Linked DNA regions of Homo sapiens: regions 1, 2, 3 and 4 are each linked to region 5. Evidence: promoter capture Hi-C in 16 types of primary human blood cells and fetal thymus (Javierre and others, 2016). All regions are on one chromosome and are shown on one strand. Each heading gives the region's core, a stretch centred on a gene start or on the middle of the fragment in contact. The rest is flanking DNA. Distances are from core to core; before and after follow the strand shown.

Region 1 (4,532 bases), core at 1,479-3,978, 580 kb after region 5:
AGACCAGCCTGGGCAATTTGGCAAAACTTCATCTCTACAAAAAATACCCCCAAAATTAGCCAGGCATGGTGGTGTACACCTAAAGTCCCAGCTACTTGAGAGGCTGAGGTGGGGAGGATCACTTGAGCCCAGGAGGCTGGGGTTGCGGTGAGCCGAGATTGTACCACTTCACTCCAGACTTGGCGACAGAGTGAGAACCTGTCTCAAAAATTCATGGGCACTAAGCCTAAATGCAATATGTTTTACAAGTTTCTGAAAATTCAACAGTTCATTTTTATTTTGAATTTTGAAATTCAGAAATAAAAGCATCTCCGTGCCTAGAACTTTTTTGTTATATAAGGAAGTCAGGGAAAGCTTAGTCATTGAATATTAGAGTTATAGAAGGGCTTTCAAGCATAATGCAAATCACTTTGCTCATTTTGTGGATGAGTAATGAGAATCCTGAAATGCAAAACCCAAAACATCTAACAATACCTAAACGTGATTGTTTTCCTAAATGAACCCTTATTTATTTATTATAATCTTGTTGAATACTAAAGGCACAGTCTGTAAAATTTGACTCGAAAATTTAGTTTTCACTTTTTCCCATTTTATTTTCAGTATCCATCTGACAAGTTTTTCCAGGCAGCTTTAAATTGCAGCTCTGAATAATTATGTCTATCTCAAATGGTTTTGAACCATATTTTTTAGCAGTTTATTTTAGTGAAGTTTTTGTTTTTTAAAGAATCAGACCTTGAGGCCGGGCACGGTGGCTCACACCTGTAATCCCAGCACTTTGGGAGGCCGGGGCGGGTGGATTACCTGAGGATAGGAATTCAAGACCAGTCTTGCCAACATGGTGAAACCCCGTCTCCACTAAAATACAAAAGAATTCGCTGGGCGTGATGGCGTGTGCCTGTAATTCCAGCTACTCGGGAGGCTGACGCAGGGGAATTGCTTGAAGCAGGGAGGTGGAGGTTGCAGTAAGCTGAGATCAGGCCACTGCACTCCAGCCTGGGTGACAGAGCGAGACTCTGTCTCAAAAAAAAAAAAAGAATCAGACCTTGAATACCTAGTTTGTACAGTTTCTAATGTCTTGATGCCAGAGCTGATTAATTATGCTATATATTTGTTTTCTAGTTAAGCTTTTAAATAAGCCTAGTGGCTATTTGGAAGTTGGTATGAATTAGTAAGTTTTTAGTAGCTATTAGGAGGGTGGATTTTTAAAATCTTTAAAAATGTATGTTGCCAGATACATGTCTATGATATTTATTTAAACTTTGTATTTTGAAGTAATTTTAGATGTAAAGAAAACTTGCAAAAGTAGTACACAGAATTTCTGTATGCCCTTTGCCCATCTTCGTGTCATGTGAGCATCTTACATGACCATGGTACATTTATTTAAGAAACCAATAGTTTAACAGTGGTACAGTACTATTGACTAAAGTACAAACCTTACTCAGATTTCACCAGTGTTTCCATTACTGTTCTTTTTCTGTTCTTAGATCCAGTCTTTAATTCCTCTTTGTATTTAATTGTCATGTTGTCTTAGTCTCCTTGGTTTCCTCCTTATCTTTCATAACCTTTACTTTCTTGTGAAGTACTGTTAGCATTTTGTGGTGTTGTTTGTTTTGGTAGCTTGTCTCTCATCTTGGTTTTGCTCGATGTTTTCTCATGATTAGATTGAAGTTATGCATTTTTGGGAAGAATGCCATAGAAACAGTATTGTACCTTTCTCAGTACATTTTATCAGGGAGTATGTGATGTCCATACATCTTATTACTGGTTATAATAATCTTGATTGCTTGTTTAAGATTGTGTCTTCTGGATTTCTCCACTGTAAATAAAGTTATTATTTTTTTCCCTTGTAATTAATGAATATTATGAGGGAGCTACTTTGAGACTGTGGAAATATCTTGTTTCTCCTCATATTTTCAGCCACTAATTTTAGTATCCCTCTGTGCATCTTGCCTACGATTATTGTGGTGTTTGCCTAATGAAGTTCATTACTTGTATATTTATTAGTTGATCATTACGTTAGAAAGAATTTTCTTCTTCTCCATGGAATCATTAATTTCTTCTGTGAAATAAAGTCTAATACCATATTTTTTTTGTTACTTAAATTGTTTCAGCTTTAGCCATTTGGAGCTTTTCAAGTGGGCTCCTGTATTTTTTTTTGACATGCTCCACCCCTCTCTTAATTCCTTTTTGTGGACTGCTACTTTGCTTTAAAGCGCCACAAGAATTTCTCTTATCTTATAGATTGTCTGCCTCTCCTCTCTGTTTTTTTTTTTTTTTTTTTTTTTTGAGGCGGAGTCTCACTCTGTCGCTCAGGCTGGAGTGCAGTGGCACCATCATGGTTCATTGCAGTCTTGACCTCCTGGGCTCAAGCGATCCTCCCGCTTCAGCCTCCCTAGTAGCTGGGACTGCAGGTACATGCCATCACACCTGGCAAATTTTTGTATTTTTTGTAGTGACAGGGTTTCACCATGTTGGCCAGGCTGGTCTCTAACTCCAGGTGGGCTCAAGCGAATCTGCCCACCTTGGCCTTCCAAAGTGCTGGGATTACAGGCATGAGCCACCGCACTGGGTCCTAAAGCTTATTTTTACCATACTGCACTAGCAGACCTCATCTTTTCTGCCTTCATATAGTTCACATGTGCAGCATATTACTTTAGTTAATATCTCTTATTTACATGTAATGAATGTCAAATTGGAGGGAAGATTTCTCTAAATGACATATTCCCACCCCCACTCCCAGTCCTCAGTAGACTTTTATATTGGTTCTTCCCTTGCTCCTCCTCCAGCCTCTTTCCCATTGTAAAGTATATACTTGCCTGTCCTAAATGAGTGGGTTTTGCCCTAGTGAAGATACAAGGGGAAAGGATATTCTGGGAATATAAGCTTAAACCTAAGAGAAGAAAAAATTTAACTTTGAGTAGGAAGGAAGAATCTAGTTTTGATAATTTGCGAAAGGAGGAAGGACATATCCCAGATTCTTGTCAAGAACAGTGTGGGGAATGAGACATGGCAAGTATTGTTAAATTGAAATAACATGAATTTTATAATAGGAAGTTTAATAATTTTGTTTGTTAACTTCCTCTTAGGATATTACCTTCCAAATGATGATGGAGAATTTTATCAGTTCTGTTACGTTACCCATAAGGGTGAAATTCGTGGAGCAAGTACACCTTTCCAGTTTCGAGCTTCTTCTCCAGTTGAAGAGCTGCTTACTATGGAAGATGAAGGAAATTCTGACATGTTAGTGGTGACCACAAAAGCAGGCCTTCTTGAGGTTGGTGTTCACAGTGAGATAGTGATTCATTGATAATTTTAAGAACAGAGCTCATGTTGGTTGGCATTTTAAGAATTTTAAGGTTATGTGAGAGTTGCCACAAAAATCGAATGCTTTGGCTGGGCGCAGTGGCTCACGCCTGTAATCCCGGCACTCTGGGAGGCCGAGGCAGGCAGATCACGATGTCAGGATATCGAGACCATCCTGGCTAACACGGTGTAACTCTGTCTCTACTAAGAATACAAAAAATTAGACGGGCGTGGTGGCAGGCACCTGTAGTCCCAGCTACTCGGGAGGCTGAAGCAGGAGAATGGCATGAACCCGGGAGGCAGAGCTTGCAGTGAGCCAAGATCGTGCCACTGCACTCCAGCCTGGGCGACAGAGCGAGACTCCGTATCAAAAAAAAAAAAAAAAAAAAAAAAAAAAAAAAAAAAAAAAAAAAAATCGAATGCTTTTTAACTAAAATAATAAATTTAGAGTGTCTTTTTTTGAAATGCTTAAAAAAATCTTTTGGCCACAATTATGCTGTTGGTTCCACTGTGGCAGAGACTTTCCCTAGGGCCTATCCTTATTTTGCGCATAGTGGATAGTGCAGTAAGTACCAATTGGGAGAGTTTAGGTCTAAAGCTTTCCTTATGTTCCTTTGCCTAACTTTTTGTGGTGGCGTAATCAGTTCATTGTAGAATGTTACCGATTTGGGGATGAAGCTGCTTGGGATAATGGTGTAAATCAATAAATCTAACTGTAATTGGATGTGAACTTTGTTTCACTACCATGAGCATTCTCTTTCTAAAGTGTGGCAGTGAGTCAGGGGAGCTTCCCAGTCTCTTAATTTAGATTGGACATTTTTAGAATGATTCCTGTTGTACTTCTGATGAAATGAATAAGCCTAGATTAACCATAATTTAAAAAGAAAATTTAAAAAGCTATTTACTCCTTACTGTTTTTGTAAATAGAATATTGTGGAGTCATGATCATGGCTTTAATATAAATTTACTATGTAGATGGTCTAATAATGCCTTGTGTATTAATTTTTAGTAGTCATTGACAGAAAAAATAGAGTGACATTCTTTTCTCATTTTAAGATCACATTTTTCAATATCTTTATCCTATACCTAAAAAACTACAGTGTTATATTTGAGTTATTGTGATTAATTGTATATAGTGCCCTCTATTATAATAATAAGAAAAATAGTTTCTCAAATTGGTTCAGTATACATTTTTGGCTAATTTATATTCATATTTCTTCTATTGCAGC
Region 2 (4,780 bases), core at 215-2,714, 890 kb before region 5:
AATTTTTTGTATTTTTAGTAGAGACGGGGTTTCACCGTTTTAGCCGGGATGGTCTCGATCTCCTGACCTCGTGATCCGCCCGCCTCGGCCTCCCAAAGTGCTGGGATTACAGGCGTGAGCCACCGCGCCCGGCCCAAGTTACCAGTCTTAATAGGGTCAAAATTCTAACAGATATTCAAATGACTTTCAGTAGACTCTCCAAGGGTTTGTTGCTGCTTTGTCTACAGCTGTAAAGTCATGCTCTTGACAATAAGTTCAGAAAGATTTTAATTTTACAGAATCTCTTAGGATCTTAGATACATGCTGCATTTTGTTTTCTACTCAATGTTTTTCTTTGCGGAGCATAGGGACAAGAATATAAAAAATACACTTTAATTTGATTTTCTTTCTTTTTTTTTTGAGACAGAATCTTGCTCTGTCGCCCAGGCTGGAGTGCAATGGCATGATCTCGGCTCACTGCAACCTCTGCCTCCCGGGTTCAAGCTATTCTCCTGCCTCAGCCTCCCGAGTAGCTGGGATTACAGGCGCGCGCCACCACGCCCAGCTAAGTTTTTGTATTTTTAGTAGAGACGGCATTTCACCATGTCAGCCAGGATGGTCTCCATCTCCTGACCTTGTAATCCACCCGCCTCGGCCTCCCAGAGTGCTGGGATTACAAGCGTGAGCCACCACACCAGCTTAATTTGATTTTCAAAAGTGATCATGGTTGCATTCACTTGTGTGTCATGACTTGGGTGCAATTTTAGGAAATTAAATACCAGTGATTGAGGGTTCAGCAATACAACTTCAAGATCCAAGATGTTAAGACACAACATTGTATATTTATACGTTTTGTTAGGGAGTTAATGTAGGTGTGGTGAACAGATGCGTTTTCAGGTGGGCCTGGAATGGTCCCTGGAGGATGATCAGCGACAAGCTGTATCTAATGGGAAAATTCATGCTTGAAAAATGAAATATTAGGCTATGCTTATTATTCTGTGTCATTCAGTCACTTATTAGCAGTTTAAGTGATGATTGTGGTTTCCCATGCAAACAGGTGTGGGGACCCAGCCTCAGGTGCCATTTGGGAAATGCTTTCCTCAGTCAGGTCCCTTGGCAGATCTCATTAGCTTTCCCCCCAAATGTTTTATTGAGACATTTCAAACATAGACAAAAACTGAAATAATTTTATATAAACACCATAGCCCACCACCTAGATGCTATGAACATTCTGCCATTCTTGTTTATCACGTTATTTATCCGTCCTCCTCCCCATCGGCAATCCTCCCCATAACTGTGGGGTCAGGGTTAGGAAGCTTAAGGTGACTCAGGTGGCGAATTCCGAAGGGTGCCGCTGGAGCACCTCCAGCCTCAACGTCCGGACTAATGGGGGCATTTCCTCCCTAACTCAATTTCAGGAAGCAGGAGGCTAGCTCTGCAGGGTGGGGGCGCACCTGGGCTGGGCTGCGCGGAGGCGGCGGAAGCACTAGGCGCGGCGCCCACAGGCGGACGGCTGGCGCTGAGCGCGGGCGCGGGGCCGCTACGTGCGCGGGGAGCGCGGGGAGCGCGGGGAGCGCGGGGCTGCGCTCGTGTGCGCTCCTGGGCGCTCGCCGCCGCCGCTGCCGCCGCGCGCCTTTGAGTCAGCAAACTCCGCGGCCCGCAAGCCCGGCTCGGCCCGGCCCTGCTCTGTTCTGCCCGGAGGAGCCGCCCGTAAGTGACAAGAGACCCGCTGAGGGGGCCTCCCCTGCACCGCCCAGGTGGGGACGGCGGCCCTTCTTTCCAGAGGCGCGGGCCCTTCCCGCTGTTCCCAGGTGCCCGCACCCTTGCGGGCTGGAAAGAGGTTTGGGTCCCTTGGGCTTGGAGCAGAGGAGCCGCCTCCTTTTCAGCCGAGGTGTGCCGGGCAGGGAGAAATGATCAGCGCGGTAGAGCGGGGAGATGGAGCGCGTCGATCCAGGGATTCTTGGCTAAAAAGACACCCCGGGGAGAGGGTGGGGCAGAGGTGGATTCTAGATTACGGAAGAAGTGCTGTGGCACCTTACACCAGGCCGGGTAGAAGGGGGTGGGGAGGTGGTTTTTAAAATTTATTTATTTATTTTTTTATTCATTCATTAACGGGTAGCCTTGAGTTGAGGAATTGGGAGGGGTAGGCAGGTTTATTCGTGGGATTGTGGGATTGAGGGAGAAGGCCCAGGGGAAAATCCATATAATTGACTGATTATCAGATTTGGTGACCAGGAAAGCAACAGCCTGTTTTTCAGTTCCGATGCATCATACTTTTCTCAAATTACACGGATTATTGAGGGGGATCGTCACGGAATGGGGAGCAACATGTCCTGCTGAAAGGAAGGGCTTCTATCTCTACAAGACACGTTAAAAATGATGGTATCAGAAAATTAGAACGGGGAGGAGGCTTGCACATGATCTCCATCAAACCTTTCATTTTACAGACAGGGAGGCTAAGGCCGAGGGACGCTGAGTGTTGGGACCAGGATCATTCAGCCAGATGGGAGCAGAACCAGGCCTACAACCTGGCAGGCTTCTGACTTCCACCCCGGAGTTATGTCCACCTCTGGGGCCTGGGAACTGGGTTTGGATTGCATAAGCTCCCCCTCCTCTCCCAGGAGGGGGCTGGGCTGGAGGCTGAGGCCTTCGCCAGGAAGAAGCAGGGACTGCTTGGATAGTTGACCAGCTTCTGCAGGGGCTCCTCAGTGAGAGAATGGAGGTGAGGTCAGGGACTCCTGCCTTGCCTCTGCCATCACTTCCAGTGATGCCTATTCCTAAGGTAGGTACATAGCTGGACCTTCATTATTCTTAATATTATTTACTTTTTTCTTTTTCTTTTGAGACAAGGTATTATTCTGTCACCCAGGCTGGATTGCAGTGGTGCGATCTTGGCTCACTGCAAACTCCACCTCCCAGGCTTCAGTGATCCTCCCACCTCAGCCTCCCTAGTAGCTGAGACCACAGGTGCGGGCCACCACACCCCTGGCTAACTTCGGTATTTTTTTTGTAGAGACAGGGTTTTGCCATGTTGCCCCAGGCAGGTCTGGAAGTCCTGAGCTCAAGCAATCCACCTGCCTCGGCCTCCCAAAGTGCTAGGATTACAGGGGTGAGCCACTGCGCTCGGCCTTTTATTACTATTTTTTAAAGGAAGGGTAGACTTGAGATTGACTGATAGGGCAGTTTTTAATAAAAATACAAAAATAAAATACATTTAGAAGAAACTGTGTGAAGATGTGAAATATCAGTGATTAGCATGGACTCAACTGGTCGTCCTGTTTCTTCTACCAGTCCATTTCATTCTCACTTTTGATTACCATTTAACTGGGGAGGACATCAGTGTTGACAGTGGGACTTGCTCAGGCTGACACTGTGCCCCACCAGGGAGTCTCCCCTCCAGGCTGGTACACACTTCCTCTTATTTTACTAATGGGAAGGACCCCTGAGTTAGGTAACCTAAAGTAATAGAAATAAGCACGTTCATTAAAAAAAATAAAAGTATGTTAATCAAAGAGTAACGTTGGTGTTCTACAGCAATTCTGCTGGGCTTTGGAGCAGTGGATATCTTTTCTCAGCCCTAGGATCACTACTTTCATTTTAAGGCTTCATTTTGCTCGTTAAGTTACTGGGGAAAATAACTTCTTTTTTCCGTTTTTAGTGACAGGGCTGTGGTTTCACAACCACTTGGTGAAAGGCAGACAACTGGTTGAGAACAGGGGCCAGTCTATGCAGATTTTCATTTCCTAGCATGGCGGAGAAGGGCTTTTGGCCAAGCTCATGGTTGACTCTGTGGGGAATCCCCCAAATTTAGCATTGTTATCTCCAAACATCTTTTTCTTAGTAATCTGGTAGGTATGAATTAGCTCTTCTGTTCTCTAAGCCCTGTTCAAAGAGGAAGGTATATAGTGTAGTGGTTAGAACTTGTGATTCCAGACCCATCTGAGTTGAAATCTTGGTATAATAATTTTCTAAGTATAGTTTTGTTGGCGGGGCACTTAACACTCTCTGAGTTGCCTGTTATTCAGAAATAAAAAAGGGTGATGGTAATCTTTGCTTCCCAGAACTGTTAATACAACAGCTGACATTTATCGAGTGCTTACTATATTCCAGGCATCGTGACATTATCGAGCACTTAATTATGGGCCAGGCATTGTGAAAGAGTTTTTATGTGGCAGTCTCATTAAGCATCACAACAGACTTATGAAGCAGATTCTGTTACTGTCTTCAGTTTACCTCTGGGGAAACTAAGCCATCAGAGTATTTATGATTTCTCTAAACTCAGCTTACAGTTTTAACTACCCAACAAATGTGTGTCAGATTTCTGTTATAAGCTAATAGTTATCTAGGGCTTACTGTGTGGTAGGCCCTGTTACAAGTGTCCTAAGTACGTTAACAACCCTTGAGATAGGTATTGTTTTTCTCCCCTTCTTCTTTCTTTTTACAGATGTGGAAACTGAGGCACAAAGCCCAAGGTCAAACAACTAGTAATGCGAGAGCCAAAATTTGAACTAGGAGCCTGGGTCTGGAATCAGTAGTAACTCTCAGCCACCCACCTGCGAATGTAAAGGGCTTAGCCAGGCTTCAGTCAAGGGCAACTCCTATTGATACTTACATTTATTTTTCCCTAAGTAACTACTCCTTGCTCCCAGTTTCTGCAGAAGAGATGCTTTTAGTTCTACAAGTGATTCAACTTTACTCAAGGCTTTGTGATTCAGTATGTATTTCTATTGTAGTCTCTGTTATTTTTAAAATCTTGTGCTAGGCCTCAGTGATCTTGCCTCTGGGGACAGGGAAATAGTCT
Region 3 (4,930 bases), core at 1,848-4,347, 810 kb before region 5:
ATTTTTGCCTTTGTTAAGAAATAATTGTTTTATTTTGTAGAAAAGGATTTGGTATTATAATGACCTTGGATTTTCACTAAATTGATATTAATGGCCAAAAGAGATTTACTTTCCTTATTACTTGTTTAAACAAGCAGAATATAAGGTAAGGTTCATTTGGTCTGAAATACATGATCTATTTTTCACAGATCGTTATATCGGAAAAATCTTATGTTGGACAAAATTCTACTTGGGTTTTAGTGTGTTAGTTTTGTCCCCTGTATCTGGTCTTAGTGTCTCCTCTTACATAATTATTGAACTATCAGTAGAGACTAAATGATCATATGTCAACATCTTTGCTAAAAGATAAACCAGTTTTTATTTAAATATAAAGGTATACTTTGATTTGATTTCATATTCTAAGATGTGCATTTCAGAGAAAACACATTCACTAATATGAATTTGAGCATCTGTAGATTTTGCTACAGGATAGTTTTTAATCTTCCATGTAGTTCTGATGCCCTGGTTGAAATCTGTTCTGTCTTTGTAAACTTTGATCTTAAATGTGGGAAGAGCAGTATGTATTCATCACAAAATTATCATATTTTAATTATATATATGGTAAAGTTGGCTGGGATCAATTTTATTTGGTTGCTCATTTTGACAACACAGAGATTCAGTGCTCCTAAAGATTTTGGAGAAATTTACAGTTAACCTTAAGTATTAAAAAAAGCCATCTCTCTCATGAGCTGTCGTAAACATGCCCTTAAGTATATAACTGTAAAGTTTTAAAATGTAAAATATGCTGAGAATTGTATTTTCTTCATATAATTTTTAATAGTAGTTGAAAGTTTTGATGTTTCATGACAGCCTATCCCATAAAGATCACTGAATTGACATGCTGTTGGCAGTAAATTTTTTAAAGTAGAATAACTTTCTATGACTATATAAGCAAAATATTTCCATAATTAATCCACATGGTAATAAGAGATGGGTAAATTGAAGAAATGTCCTTGAAGTTATTCTTTTAACAGATGTTCTTAACTATTAGCTTCATGTTTTTACCCACCTAAATTTCCAAATAATTGAATAAAAGTTAACATATGCTTTCCTCCCCTTAATGGGCAGAGCCCATAATTGATACAAAGTTTACCACAGTAGAGAAATTACCTTCAGTGGTACTTTTCTAATGTTTTTCTTTCTTCTACCCTATCACTGACCATCCTGTTCACCAATTATTTTTCCTTTTTTTTTTAATATAGAGTCCTACAGAATGCACTTTTGCTTTCAGATAGCAGCCTTCACCTCTTCTTACAGAGCCATCTGAATTCAGAAGACATTGAGGCGTGTGTTTCTGGGCAGACTAAGTACTCTGTGGAAGAAGCAATTCACAAGTTTGCCTTAATGAATAGACGTTTCCCTGAAGAAGATGAAGAAGGAAAAAAAGAAAATGATATAGATTATGATTCAGAAAGGTATTTCCTTGCATTTTGATTTAATGTATATGTATTTATATAATACATAGTATGCACATATGCACGTGTATAGATATATATACACACTTCACTTTTTTGTTGATATAATACTAAGATAATGAAAAAATTAATTGACTGAGATTTTATTGAGCTGTGACAGCTCATCATAGTAGTCTTCACACACACCTCCACACTGAATTAATGAATGCAGTAGAAATTCAATTATTTGCATTCTGATTATGTGACTTTCATTTAGTCAGACTTGAATTATTCGCGTTTAAATTATCTAGCTAAAAAAATACCCAACTGCACTCCAAATGGCTAATTAAAAGTCCAAATTTCCTGTCTCTCTTTGTGACTGGAGATAATTAAAGTTCTCCTCTGTTACTCAGGCTTTGAGTGTGTTGTGAAAACCAATTTCCTCTTTTTATTATTTTCCCCCTCTCTTCTTTTCCAGTTCATCCTCTGGGCTTGGACACAGTAGTGATGACAGCAGTTCACATGGATGTAAAGTAAATACAGCTCCGCAGGAATCCTGAAAAATAATTCTAATGTTACTATCTTAGGAATAGCAAATTATGTCCAGTCATAGAGAAGAAAGCTTCATAATAATACATTCTTACCTAAAGCTCACTGTCATGATGTTAGGTATTTAAATTCTTAAAGATGTTGGGTTGTTTATTAGTGGTATTTTTATGTTGTCTTATTTTAGGTAAGCTTCTGTGTAAAGCTAAAAATCCTGTGAATACAATACTATCCTTTACAGGCAGACATTATTGGTAAACAAGATCTTGCCCTCCAATGAAATGACTTACATGTTTTAAAAAACCGAGTTGGTTTTATTGAATTTAAAAAGATAGGTAACTAAGTAGCATTTAAAATCAAGATAGAGCATTCCTTCTTGTATCAGTGGGGCAGTGTTACCATAAACACGGTGTATATGTTGTTAAACCCTATGAAGAGTAACAGTGTAGACCAGACTGCCTCTCTCAGATATGTGCCTGATATTTTGTGGATACCTCCCCTGCACTGGCAAAACACTATGCTTTTGGGTGTTAGACTGAAATATTTTAAGAGTATTTAACCTTTCCAGTATTCTGTTTCACGCTTAGATGGAAATGTATCTTATGAATAGAGACATATTAAAATAATGTTTACATCTTAGAAAAAACATAGATAGTGCTAGTAATATTACTTATAACTGTAATATATAGATTCAGAAATACATTTTCATTATCCAAAATCAGCTTCAACAAATGGTTTCTGGAGACAAATAATTTGTTTTCATTATCATTGTATAATCAGGTTAATGATTTATTTTTTGACTAAATGTGCAATTTCTTATCACTAGATAACTTTCAGTATCAGTGGTGGTTACTTATTACTTAAATCAGAGGAAGGATTTTATAAAGATTAATAAATTTAATTTTACCAATAAATATTCCCATAATTTAGAAAAGGATGTCGACTTGCTAATTTCAGAAATAATTATTCATTTTTAAAAAGCCCCTTTTAAAGCATCTACTTGAAGATTGGTATAATTTTCATAAAATGTCTTTTTTTTTAGTGTCCCAAAGATATCTTAGATAAACTATTTTGAAGTTCAGATTTCAGATGAGGCAACATTTTCTTGAGATAATTACCCAAGTTTCATCCATGTTGAATGGTACAAAATATTTCTGTGAAACTAACAGGAAGATATTTTCAGATAACTAGGATAACTTGTTGCTTTGTTACCCAGCCTAATTGAAGAGTGGCAGAGGCTACTACAAAAAGCAACCTTTTCATTTTCACTAAGAGTTTAAAAGCTATTGTATTATTAAAAAGTCTTTACAATGCTTGTTTCAAAGAACCAACAGAAAAAAAAGCTAAGAAAACTGAGAACTAACATTAAAAAAATTAAATTTAGAATAAGAATGATTTCTTTAATTTGTCCTTTTTTTCTTTGGTCTAAAACATTATTAAATTTTTGTAAATATTTTGATTTAATGTGTCTTAGATCCTCATTATTTTAATACAGGAAAAGAAAAGATTTAGTAATTTCTTACCATGCTAATATGTAAAGTTCATGCCATCCAGGCATTTAAGAGCGATCCTCATCCCTTCAGCAATATGTATTTGAGTTCACACTATTTCTGTTTTACAGCAGTTTTGAAAAACACATACTATGCCACCAATTGTCATATTATTTTTAGATGATGTAACATAGCCATCAAAATTAATATTATGTAATGCCTAATACTTAGTATGTAAATGTCACGAGATCATTTTTACATTAAACGTGAAAAAAAATCAACTTTGCCGGATCACTTATTTTATACAAGAGAATATATTCTGCCTTAGACCCAAACTCAGTGTTTTTTATTTTTTATGAGGAAATTTGGTAAAACATGGTTTAATATTAGCTATAGTTGTACATATTTGAGGCTTTTAGCCTTGGTTTAGTTGTTTCAATGTCCACACACTGGCTTCTTAAAACTGATTTCTTGCAGCTGAGATATTTAGATGAACTTCAGTTCCCAGTGGTTTTCTTGCTTTGTCTCTTATTTTTCTCTGGCATATTTTTTATAAAGCTTTCTTTAGGAAAAAGAAAATAATTACTGATGTAGCTAACTTGAATAGATGTTTATTTAACACTATTTTTAATGTGACTTAAATGTAAAGAATTCTAATCCTGGATTCTTTATGATTACAATACAGCAAAACTGCATTTTCCCTGGCTGATTCTTAAAGGGTAAACTATTCACCTATAAAGCCAACTTACGTGTTTTGTTGTAGAACTAGATTTATATATAACCCAAAGGTGTCAACAGCACTGAACGTCAACAACCTGTTACTTCGGCTTCTTATAAAGTCTCACTTAGAAGAAAGTTACTTAATTCTAGTTAAAATTTCAAGTTTTAAAAATTACTAGGGACAAACAAGTATTTATTTTTAAGCAGATACTATTCCTTAAGATATGAAGTATCTTGCCAGTTTTTCAAACCTAGTCCACATTTTATTGAATAATTAAATACAAACAAGTGATATGCAGTATAAAGTAAAAGAACAAAGTTTCTTTTATGACAATTAAGAAGTTAAACAACTTCATTTAGCCTGGCCACAATAACCGTTATATCCAACAGTAAACTGGACGTTGTTTTGAATTTGGTTTGTATTTGTTGGATGCCTTAAGGATTCATTATTATTGAGCTACTGTGATACCAATAAGGTTTTCAGTATTTGAGCTATAAAAGACAACCCCTTTTCATTAGAGGCCCCTTAACATTTTAAACGAAAATAACAAAGCTTATTCTGTTTCTAAATAGTCTTCCTCTTAATATTTAAATTACTTAGCTGGTATCCTGTGAATACAAGGCAACATCTTTTCAATGAAGGAAACAATTTCAGTACAATTTTGTGTTTTTGTTTGGAATATAGACCTTTTCTTAGTTTATTATATATAAACACATTTTCAAATACAAAATACTGTCTGA
Region 4 (4,932 bases), core at 1,162-3,661, 560 kb after region 5:
AAATGGAGTCTCCTATGTCTACTTCTTTCTACACAGACACAGTAACAGTCTGATCTCTCTTGCTTTTCCCCACACATACCCGGCAAATTTTTGTATTTTTAGTAGAGACGAGGTTTCTCCATGTTGGTCAGGCTAGTGTCGAACTCCTGACCTCTTGATCCGCCTGCCTCGGCCTTCCAAAGTGCTGGGATTACAGGTGTGAGCCACCGCACCCAGCCCATCACGTTCTTAAATTGTAGACCGCTGTTTATAGTTCTCACTGCAGCCATGTTTGTAGAATTAACCAGCAAATACCTTTTCCATAACAAAAGTAAAATTTTGGAATTCAAAGTTTCAACCTTTTTAATAATGTTAAAATAATCATGAAAGATCCTAATGATGCTCCTTGTATACTTCTTTTGGGGACTTTGTTGTATTCTTTTGGAATGGATATGTTAAATCTGGGCTTTATGCATTTCTGTCTTTTTAAAGCTTATTTTGTCCCAAATAAACCTTTAGAAGAAGATAAAAATGTCCTCTACCCTAATATGTGTGGGCCAATATCATAGCATTTTAGAAACCAACTTATAAAAATCTAAAAAGTAAATAAAAGTGGTGCGGGTGATACCTGGGCGGAATGTCTTGGCACTCAGGTGTAAAGGATTCTGGAAATAGGGATGTCTGCAAGGGTGCAAATTAATAGACTGGGGCTTTTGCTGTTGCCTCCTAGAAAAATTGCTGATTACATTTTTTGGGAGCAGAGGTCTGTTGAGAGTTGTTAGTCTTTCTTTTTTTGAGCCACAGTGTGAATAATTGGAAACTATTTGAATGCTGGACATTTTTTCCTTTCATATGTTTGTGTGTCCTATCGGATTAAAGTTTGGAGATAATTCTAAAGGTTTTTTAGCTGAAGATGTGAAAAACTTTCAGTAACTCTATCAACCATTACCTGAATTACAACACTTCTAAGGGTACAAAGCGTTCATATTCTAAAATGCAGTGTTTCTGCTACAGTGGGTCATATGTGGAGTGTTACTAATCTGTTTCATTTCTTTATTTGCTTTGGTTTTACTATTACAGAAATTTTCAAACATACACAAAGGAGAATGAACAGTAAAATGAACCGACACTTTACTAATCTTGTTTTATTACCCCCTCTAACATTAATTTTTTCCCCTGGAGTTTTTAAAGCAAATCTTAGACATCAAGACATTTCACTTACAGTTAGTTTAGTATCTTTATTTTTTTTTTTTTTTTTTTTTTTTTTTTTTTTTTTTTTTTTTTTTTTTTGAGACGGAGTCTCGCTCTGTCGCCCAGGTCGGACTGCGGACTGCAGTGGCGCAATCTCGGCTCACTGCAAGCTCCGCTTCCCGGGTTCACGCCATTCTCCTGCCTCAGCCTCCCGAGTAGCTGGGACTACAGGCGCCCGCCACCGCGCCCGGCTAATTTTTTGTATTTTTAGTAGAGACGGGGTTTCACCTTGTTAGCCAGGATGGTCTCGATCTCCTGACCTCATGATCCACCCGCCTCGGCCTCCCAAAGTGCTGGGATTACAGGCGTGAGCCACCGCGCCCGGCCTAGTATCTTTATTTTTTATTTTTATTTATTTTTTATTTTTGAGACGGAGTCTCGCTGTCACCCAGGCTGGAGTGCAATGGCGTGATCTCAGCTCACTGCAGGCTCCGCCCCCCAGGGTTCACGCCATTCTCCTGCCTCAGCCTCCCGAGTAGCTGGGACTACAGGCGCCTGCCACCTCGCCCGGCTAATTTTTTGTATTTTTAGTAGAGATGGGTTTTCACCGTGTTAGCCAGGATGGTCTCGATCTCCTGAACTCGTGATCCGCCCGCCTCGGCCTCCCAAAGTGCTGGGATTACAGGCGTGAGCCACCGCACCCGGCCTAGTTTAGTATCTTTAAATGATAAAGACTAGAAAAACACAGAATCACCATAATTATATTATCACACATAACAAAATTACCTTATTTTTGAATTCTAATTGTTAGGACTGGCAAATTATATTTAGTATTTATCTAAATTAAAAAGCTTAATTTGGCTTCATATGTTTAATGTACAGAAGTTCTTACTATGGTCTATTTTTCAGTAAGTTCACTAAGGCTTACATTTTTGGGCTAAAGTAAAACAAGTATTGGGAACCACTGGAAAAATACTACCACAAAAGTCAAATCTGCTTTGGGCTTGAAAAAGTTACAAGAGGAGTAAGTAAAGATAACATTGAAATGCTTCCCTGCCCCCACCCCATGTTTATTTTAGCTGTATACATAACTGAGTGCCCACTATATATTATTTATCTTTTTTATAGACATTAATGCATTCGCAAAATAATAAAATTGGAATTTAGACCAAAGACTTTATAATATACAGTTTACAGCATAACACACATAAAGAAATTCTAGAGGCATTGGAACTTGGGGAAGTGTAGTAGGAAACCTGGAAGAGGGCACTGTAGCCAGCATGTATAAGCATTTCTGATTTTGTTTCCCAGCCAAATGTGTCTGGCCCCTTAATTGTTGACTGGACGTTTCATACTTATCCTTGGCTTGCCTACTTACTATACTCCTGTTTGTAGAGGTGCACTTTAGAGAAGGGGAATCAGAATTTGACATGGTAAAGCTGCTTGCTTCTACTTTCCTTTTTGTGTAGGGAGTGTACTTCTCTCCAACTGAGAGGAGGTTTGTACTTTTTCTCAGGATGTTAGTGAAGCTACACTTCCCAGGCATTACCACAAGGTGATGCAGTGACTTTGCATATTATTTCTCCACTCCCGTGCGACCTTGACATTCTCAGTGAATTCCAACATTTTTGTAAGCTTGCCTAAGTCTGTTATCTGTAGGAGGAGTGAACCAGAGGAACTATGTGGGAATTAGAAATTTTATTATTTAAAATGGGTTGATAATGACATAATTATATTTGATTGCATTCATCCATGTAAACTTTTTAAATGATTAGTAGCTATATTGTAATTTAATAAGAGTAAAAAATGACAAGGTACTGGAATGACTTTTGTAAAATATTTCTATAATTATAGCAATGAAATTTTAAAAAGATTGGAGTGTTGGAGAGAGATTAATGAAGGCCATTAATAGGATAATCACAAATTATTTTACTTTTCAGACTTGTAACCATTGTGAATACTATATTTTAAAGTGAAATACTAGTGTTTTCTATTAGAAAATGTGAAATTCAGGGGAGGGTTTAAAAATGGAATTTCTTGTTAATAGGGCTATTTAAAACAATAGAAATAATACATTTATATATACTTGTAAAAATTCAAACAATAAATTGATGTAAAATTTAAGGTCCTTAAGTCTTCTTTTTACACACATCCCTTATAAGACTATTAACTCTATAGTGTATACTTCTTGAGTTCCTTTTGATGCATTTGTAAACATATACAAATACATATATGTATACCTATGTGCTATTTTGTACCTCAAAAACTTCAGTGAACTAAAAGTATAAGGTTGGATTGTGGGTTTTTAAAAAACTGTTATAATTGAGGTTAACAGAAGTTGAAACACTTTTGCCTTGTTTTATAAAAAAAATAGTTACAGCTTTGTTGGTTTAATTTATTTTAGGAAATGATATGTTAAATTTTAAGAAAAAAGTATTATCCTTAATCAGCTTTTGATTAAAAACATGGGACGTTTATTCTAAGCTAGTTTATTTCCTTCTTACTGAATATCTTTCTTAAAGGAAGCGTGACTATTCACTCACTTCATAGAAAAATATTATTCTCTTAATTCAGTTTTGGTAGTTGTATCTAATAGATGTTGGTTCTGTTGATTTAGCTATAGTTTCTTTTGTTGGTGTCTTGTAACCAGTAGTGAGTTTTTTTTTTTTCTTTTTTTTTTAAAGAACTGGAATTGGTGTTTTTTTTTTTTTCCTTTGTGAAGCCAGTGACTTGAGATAATCATTAATGACTTCATTAGTATCATGACCTCCCTGGGAGCCCAAATTAGCTCAGACAACTCAAAGAAACAAAATAATAAAACTCTTCAGTTATTTTAGGCAGAGTTCTCCAGTGTTTGTAAATGCTACCTGTTCATTTTTCTGATGGCTTTAGGTTACCAGGTAGAGAGTATTCATAGTTAAGTCTTTCCATGAAATATGGTTGCTGGTAGCAAAGTCCCTTTATTAGTGCAGAGGTAAAGGGGGATTGCTACTGAATATACTCTTTATCTTGGAATGCTTGCAAACCTCAGGTAGGGAGAGGCTGACAACTAGCCTGATACTCTACAGTGGTTTCCAGGTTCATGATTGACAGTCTCTTTTTGGGATATCCATTATATTCAGTAAAGCAGGACTTTGGCCATAACAGAAGCAGAGGGGACACAAGAAGAAAGTTGATATTTTTTAAAGTGCTTATTATTACAAAACTTTAAAAATTTGCCTTAGTATTTCAAACAGGTCAGCAAAAGAAACAGTTGTAAAAGCACACTGTTTTAGATCTTAGCAATAAGCCTTCTTACTAATGGCTAAAATATGAGTAGAGCCTTACTGCTGTGCTTGCTCTGTAGAAACTTCATTGATTTGTGAAGTAAATTAGATTAATTTGGTTAGCAAAAACCTTGCCCCAGTTTTCCCCATTATTACAGAGATGCCTGTTTTAATGACTCAAGCAAGTGCAGTCAGGACAGTCATAGTTTCTTATGTGTATTGTAGAATTAGTGATTGTACGGAGCCTGTGACAAACTCTACAGATTGCTTTTTTGGGTAAATCCTCATTTGTTTCTGTTTTCTCAAAAGTAGAGCACAAAATAGGGAAAACATTTGGATCTTGCAGTTTTTATAATCTGCTTTCACCATTCATCTGCTATCCAGTGCTTGGTGTTTACTAAGCCAGTGAGCGTTCATGAATCTCTAAGAGATTTTCAACAGTGTGTATTTTATTAACACTACACTTTTATTTTTATTTTTAAATATAAGTTTATTT
Region 5 (4,314 bases), core at 1,637-4,136:
TACCCCTTCCTCCTGCCCCTGTCCCCAAGCTGAACTGGGCTTGGAGAGCACACAGCTTTTTTACTCAGGGGTCCTGGGGGTGGGTAGGCTCCCAGTAGAGGGAGGGTGTGGTGGGGTTAGTCTCCAGGGGGTCTGGCAGGGGCCCAATCCCCAGTGGAGACCACACCCAGCCCGCAGCTCTGCAGGCTCCAAGAGTGAACCACCAGGGGTCCCAAACCTGTCATTCTAGCTGATGCACAGCTCTCAGAATCCAATGATTATTAGGAATCTTAACCACTGAGATCTTAATCAAGAGAGTCCCAGACCACCTCCTGTGGGGCTATCTCCATGCATCCCTCTCTTGCACACCTCTTTTCAAAAGTCACCATGTGGCTTGACTTTGTCAAGGGCAAAATCTGCATATTATCTCATGTGTATGAAGCCCCCCACCCAATTCCAGCCGCTGGAGTCTTAGAGGAGTGGATTTGCTGAGTAGTACTGTAAACGGTCTCTGTTAATTTTTTTTTCCTTCATTCTCCTGTTCTGAAACCAGATTTTGACTTGACGATCAGTGAGGTTGAGCATGCGGGACAGTTGCAGGCGCTTCTCTTTGTTAATGTAGACGCTGAAGAAGAACTCCCGTTCCAGCTCTCGGATCTGGTACTTGGTATAGGGGCAGCGCTTTTTGCGGGTGCGTTGGCCACCTGTGGAGGGAGAAAAGGCATGGGGTGAGCCAGGTGTGGGGGCTGCAATCCACCCCAGAGCCCATAGCTGAGGAGAAGGGCTGCCATGGGGACTGGTGGTCCAGCCCAAGCCCCGTCAAAGTCTGCCCAGGCCCCTGCCTTTAACGCTCCGACTGCATGCTTGGAACGGCCGCAGTTGGAGGCTCAGCCACAGATAAAAGCCAGCTCCCTAAATAGGCCCCCGGGGAAGCTGCTCCCGCTGCCCCCAGAACAGAAAGGAGAGCTTCGCACAGCAACAGGCGAGTTTGCGCTGCCTAAGCCTCTTTGAAAGCAGCCAAGTGGGGGTTGCCGGCTGCCTCTCGCAGGCCAGACTAAACAAACAGCCGCCTGCGGACATTTCACCTTCCAGCACCTGGGCTGCCCCTTCCCAAGGCAGTAAAGGCGGCTCCAGTCCCAGTCTTTCCCGGCTGCGGCCAAGACTGGGCAGTCCTTAACATCTGGGGCGGCTGCCGGGTCTTTGTCAGCCTGAGTCCTGGCCACCAGCTTCTGCCTCCCCGGCCAGCCTTCCGGCTCCGCCGAGGTGGGGAGGTGGCGGCGGAAGCCCCCTACCCTAGGCCTTCGCTGAGCACCACGGCCACACGGCCATCCTGCACACGGCAGAGCAGCGGCTCTATCTTAGGTAGGGTGAAGGGAAAGGGGGCTTCCCGAAGCTGCGGGCAGGCTCTACTTGCTCCCCCTTTAAAAAAAAAAAAAAAAAAAAAAAAAAGACCCACAAGACAAAAAAAAAATCGCTTTTGACAGATTGAATAACAATTGTGAATAACATGCAGTTGGGCAGAAGGAGGCACGTAATTGCCACCACGCCAGAGGAAAATGGCTTCCTTTGGACAAAAAGGCCAACTTTGGGTTAATTTGTTCTTTTAATATATTGCTAGAGCTAAGCGGGCTACTTTATCTGTTAAACGCGCTCCTAGCGCCGTCGTTAAACAGCGACGCCTTTGAATCCCGGCCGGGACTGGAGTCCCGGCGCAACACATGGCTTTTATAAAAATCTCCGGATTACCTCGCTATCAAAAGCTCCCGAAGCCCTTGCAGGGGGAATTTACAGGCGCCCACCTCCGGCTCCCCAGCCTGGAGCTGGCCCCGAGCGGGGTCGAGCTGCTGGGCTTGGGAGCTGAGAAGGGAAAAAAGGGAAAAGGGGAGTTGTTTTTTTTTGCAGGCATGCCTTGGCCGGTGGGTATTTCACGGCCAATTTCAGCACTCGCCACGTGATCCCGCCTTTTATAACAAAGTTTTGTTGGGGGAAACCTAAAGGCCCTTCATAAACCTTATATGCTTATAAAACAGCATATAAAAATTTAACAGCGGTGCTGCGCTAGATTTCCAACTCCCCTTTCATAAAGCGCAGGGCGCTGCCTTTATACGTACTGGAGCCGCCGGCCTTGTCCTCAGTGTGGCCGGAAGACGACTCGGGGCTGCTGCTGCTCTCGGGGCGCCGCCGCCGCTCTTTCTCCTCTGCTGCCGCCGCCGTCTCCCGGCAGCCGCCGCCGCCGCCGCTGTCCGAACTTGAAGTTGCCGGCGCGCCCGTTGCAGCCGCCGCCGCCGCCGCGGAGGTCGCCGTGGCCGCCGGGGGCCCCTTCTCGGCGCTCTTGTCCCCGGGGTAGTCGGAGGAGGCGAGGTTTTCCGGGGTGCCGTAGGCTGTCTCGAAAAACTGGTCGAAAGCCTGTGGCAGGACGCCGTTCCTGCCCACGGTGCTATAGAAATTGGACGAGACTGCGGGGGTGGGGTGGTGGTAGACGTTGGCCGAGCTCTTGGCCAGCACGTCGCCAGGCACGCCGGCCGCGCTGGGCGCCTGCAGGCAGTCTCTGTGCACGAGCTCCTCCGCGGAGTAGCAGTGGGCCAGATTGCCGCGGGGGTGCCATTTAGTGGCGGGCTCAATGGCGTACTCTCTGAAGGTCACTTCGCGCACGGGTTGGACCTGGGGCAGGTTGGAGGAGTAGGAGTATGTCATTGGGCGCGAAGACGGGGTCTGGGGCAGAAAAGAAGGGAGGCTGGAGAAATCTGGACCCGAGACGTAGTAAGTACAACTTGGCAAATACATGTTAGAGGAGCAGGGACCACGCTCATCAAAATCCATTATTGGGCTACCTTGGGCTCTCCGCAGTAGCCGAGCTTAACATGATTCTCCACTGCAGCTGCCTCTTTGAAGCGGATCCGTGAAGTAGAAATTTGGAGACGTAAGCTGACGTGGAAATCTATCCCCATCCTTAGCAGGGAGGTGCTGGTCATGTGACCCGATGTTGAAATTGACAAGCTGCTAGCTAGTCCGGGCCTTTTCCCCCCCCCTTTCCTTTTTTTTTTTTCCTCCTCTCCCCTCCCTCCCGGCTTCCTTTCTTTGTAGCCACCTCAGGGGAAGCAACAGATCGTCACTCGGTGTTCTCACCGAAAGCACGTAATCGCCGGTGTAACTCATGTTGGCTGGGGGGCCTCCCGGCGCGCGCGGAGAGGCTGGGGTGCGCCCCCATGCAGCATGCTTGTGCTCAATTGCAGGGTCCTCGTTCTCGAGTGTGCAGAGGGCGGTGAGAGCTCAACTCTCGTCCCCACCTCCCACCCGCAGCTCCCCGGGTGGGTGAGGGATGCCCTGGACTGGGGATAGCCAGGTGGGAGTCCGTCGCTGTGTGGCCTGTGGTCTCGGAGTCTGTTCTCCTGGAGTCTCGCATTTGCACCCCCTTCTTCGCAGTCCCCCTCCCATAGACTTGCTCTGGGAAGCGCCTCTGCCTCCGACCCTAGCCGGAACCCCTTCGGGGCCAGAGTTTGAAGCCGTGGATGTGCCTGCCTGGTGGCTTGTCCGATTTGCACGGTGACTTGATTACACTCTCTCATTCATGGTCACTTCCGAAGCGCTTTAGTGCCTTCCGTCCCTAAACCGCCAACAGCCAGAACGGCTTCTCCCCGCGGTTTGTCACTGATCCGCAGGGCCCGGAAGGGCCTTCGTCTTACCCGGGATCCACCTCTCCCCTCATCTTCCCTGCCTACCTCTTCATCCCACCTTCTGTCCTTGGAGAAACTCCCTCCTCCTCGCTGCCTGCCGGGCTTCGGAGTGACTCGGCAGAGACAGAGGCACAGGGGCTGCCCTGCTGCTCACCGGTCCACCCATCTGCCTGGTCTTCTGGAGCTGAGGACTCGGGAAACCATGCAATTGAGGCAAGCCTTGGGCTGCTTTAGAGGCGCTGACATCCGAGGAGACTTCTCCTGGGTATGCTGCATCTTCGTGGGGGGCCCATCAGGCTGCTTACAGAGCTCCAGGGGTGTGGGGAGAATGGAGGTGGAAAGGACGGGCTGAGGGCCAAGGAGAGGTGGCTGAGAAAGGGGTAACCCACCTACTCTCCTACTCTCCTTCCTTGCAATGTGTGAGAGTGAAAGCAAGGGATGTGCAGGGCAAAAACTCAGAGAGCTCTGTGCCTTTCCTACTGCTCATTCCACAGGAGGAATACAATACCAGAGAAAGGAGAGGTGCTTCCCGAACTCCCTGCACCTGGGGAAACAGGGATGTCTTTAAAAAGCTAGGTTTGTGCTAAGGATAGAGAGAGGCCATAGCAATACTCTGAGTCTAGCTTTCTTGAGAAGAGGAAAAAAAATAAATTAAGAAGGC

What was found. The method cuts DNA at HindIII sites, captures the fragments that hold promoters and counts their contacts. A CHiCAGO score of 5 or more calls a contact.
Region 1: a contact is called between a fragment that was not itself captured here and the fragment with the promoter of HOXA11 in region 5, in 1 of 17 cell types (megakaryocytes). The highest score is 6.1, in megakaryocytes.
Region 2: the fragment with the promoter of SNX10 here is called in contact with the fragment with the promoter of HOXA11 in region 5 in 5 of 17 cell types (neutrophils, activated CD4 T cells, M0 macrophages and 2 more); the score reaches 8.9 in neutrophils.
Region 3: a contact is called between a fragment that was not itself captured here and the fragment with the promoter of HOXA11 in region 5, in 3 of 17 cell types (naive B cells, total B cells and neutrophils). The highest score is 13.2, in naive B cells.
Region 4: a fragment that was not itself captured here is called in contact with the fragment with the promoter of HOXA11 in region 5 in 1 of 17 cell types (endothelial precursors); the score reaches 5.3 in endothelial precursors.

Annotation. Positions count from the first base shown.
Region 1 is chr7:27,762,748-27,767,279 of GRCh38, forward strand. TAX1BP1 (Tax1 binding protein 1) reads left to right here. Exons shown (of 17, transcript NM_006024.7): 4 at 3,087-3,274. Among named protein-coding and RNA genes, the nearest start is that of TAX1BP1-AS1, 24 kb to the left of the region's middle. The HindIII fragment of the contact is 305 bases long and covers 2,577-2,881 here.
Region 2 is chr7:26,290,398-26,295,177 of GRCh38, forward strand. It overlaps SNX10 (sorting nexin 10), which reads left to right and starts at 1,465. Exons shown (of 7, transcript NM_013322.3): 1 at 1,465-1,689. RefSeq lists silencers at 1,489-1,728, 1,879-1,958 and an enhancer at 3,450-3,499. The HindIII fragment of the contact is 4,940 bases long and covers 1,294-4,780 here.
Region 3 is chr7:26,370,580-26,375,509 of GRCh38, forward strand. It overlaps SNX10 (sorting nexin 10), which reads left to right. Exons shown (of 7, transcript NM_013322.3): 6 at 1,242-1,454; 7 at 1,912-3,804. The coding sequence ends at 1,993. SNX10-AS1 (SNX10 antisense RNA 1) reads right to left here. Exons shown (of 2, transcript NR_136272.1): 2 at 1,440-1,989. Among named protein-coding and RNA genes, the nearest start is that of LINC02981, 26 kb to the right of the region's middle. The HindIII fragment of the contact is 1,856 bases long and covers 2,170-4,025 here.
Region 4 is chr7:27,742,548-27,747,479 of GRCh38, forward strand. All of the region lies in intron 1 of TAX1BP1 (Tax1 binding protein 1), which reads left to right. Among named protein-coding and RNA genes, the nearest start is that of TAX1BP1-AS1, 4.3 kb to the left of the region's middle. The HindIII fragment of the contact is 784 bases long and covers 2,020-2,803 here.
Region 5 is chr7:27,182,346-27,186,659 of GRCh38, forward strand. It overlaps HOXA11 (homeobox A11), which reads right to left and starts at 2,887. Exons shown (of 2, transcript NM_005523.6): 1 at 2,091-2,887; 2 at 1-683. The coding sequence starts at 2,799. The coding sequence ends at 451. It overlaps HOXA11-AS (HOXA11 antisense RNA), which reads left to right and starts at 3,063. Exons shown (of 2, transcript NR_002795.2): 1 at 3,063-3,918. RefSeq lists enhancers at 486-1,368, 1,369-2,250, 3,133-4,014. The HindIII fragment of the contact is 8,872 bases long and covers 1-4,314 here.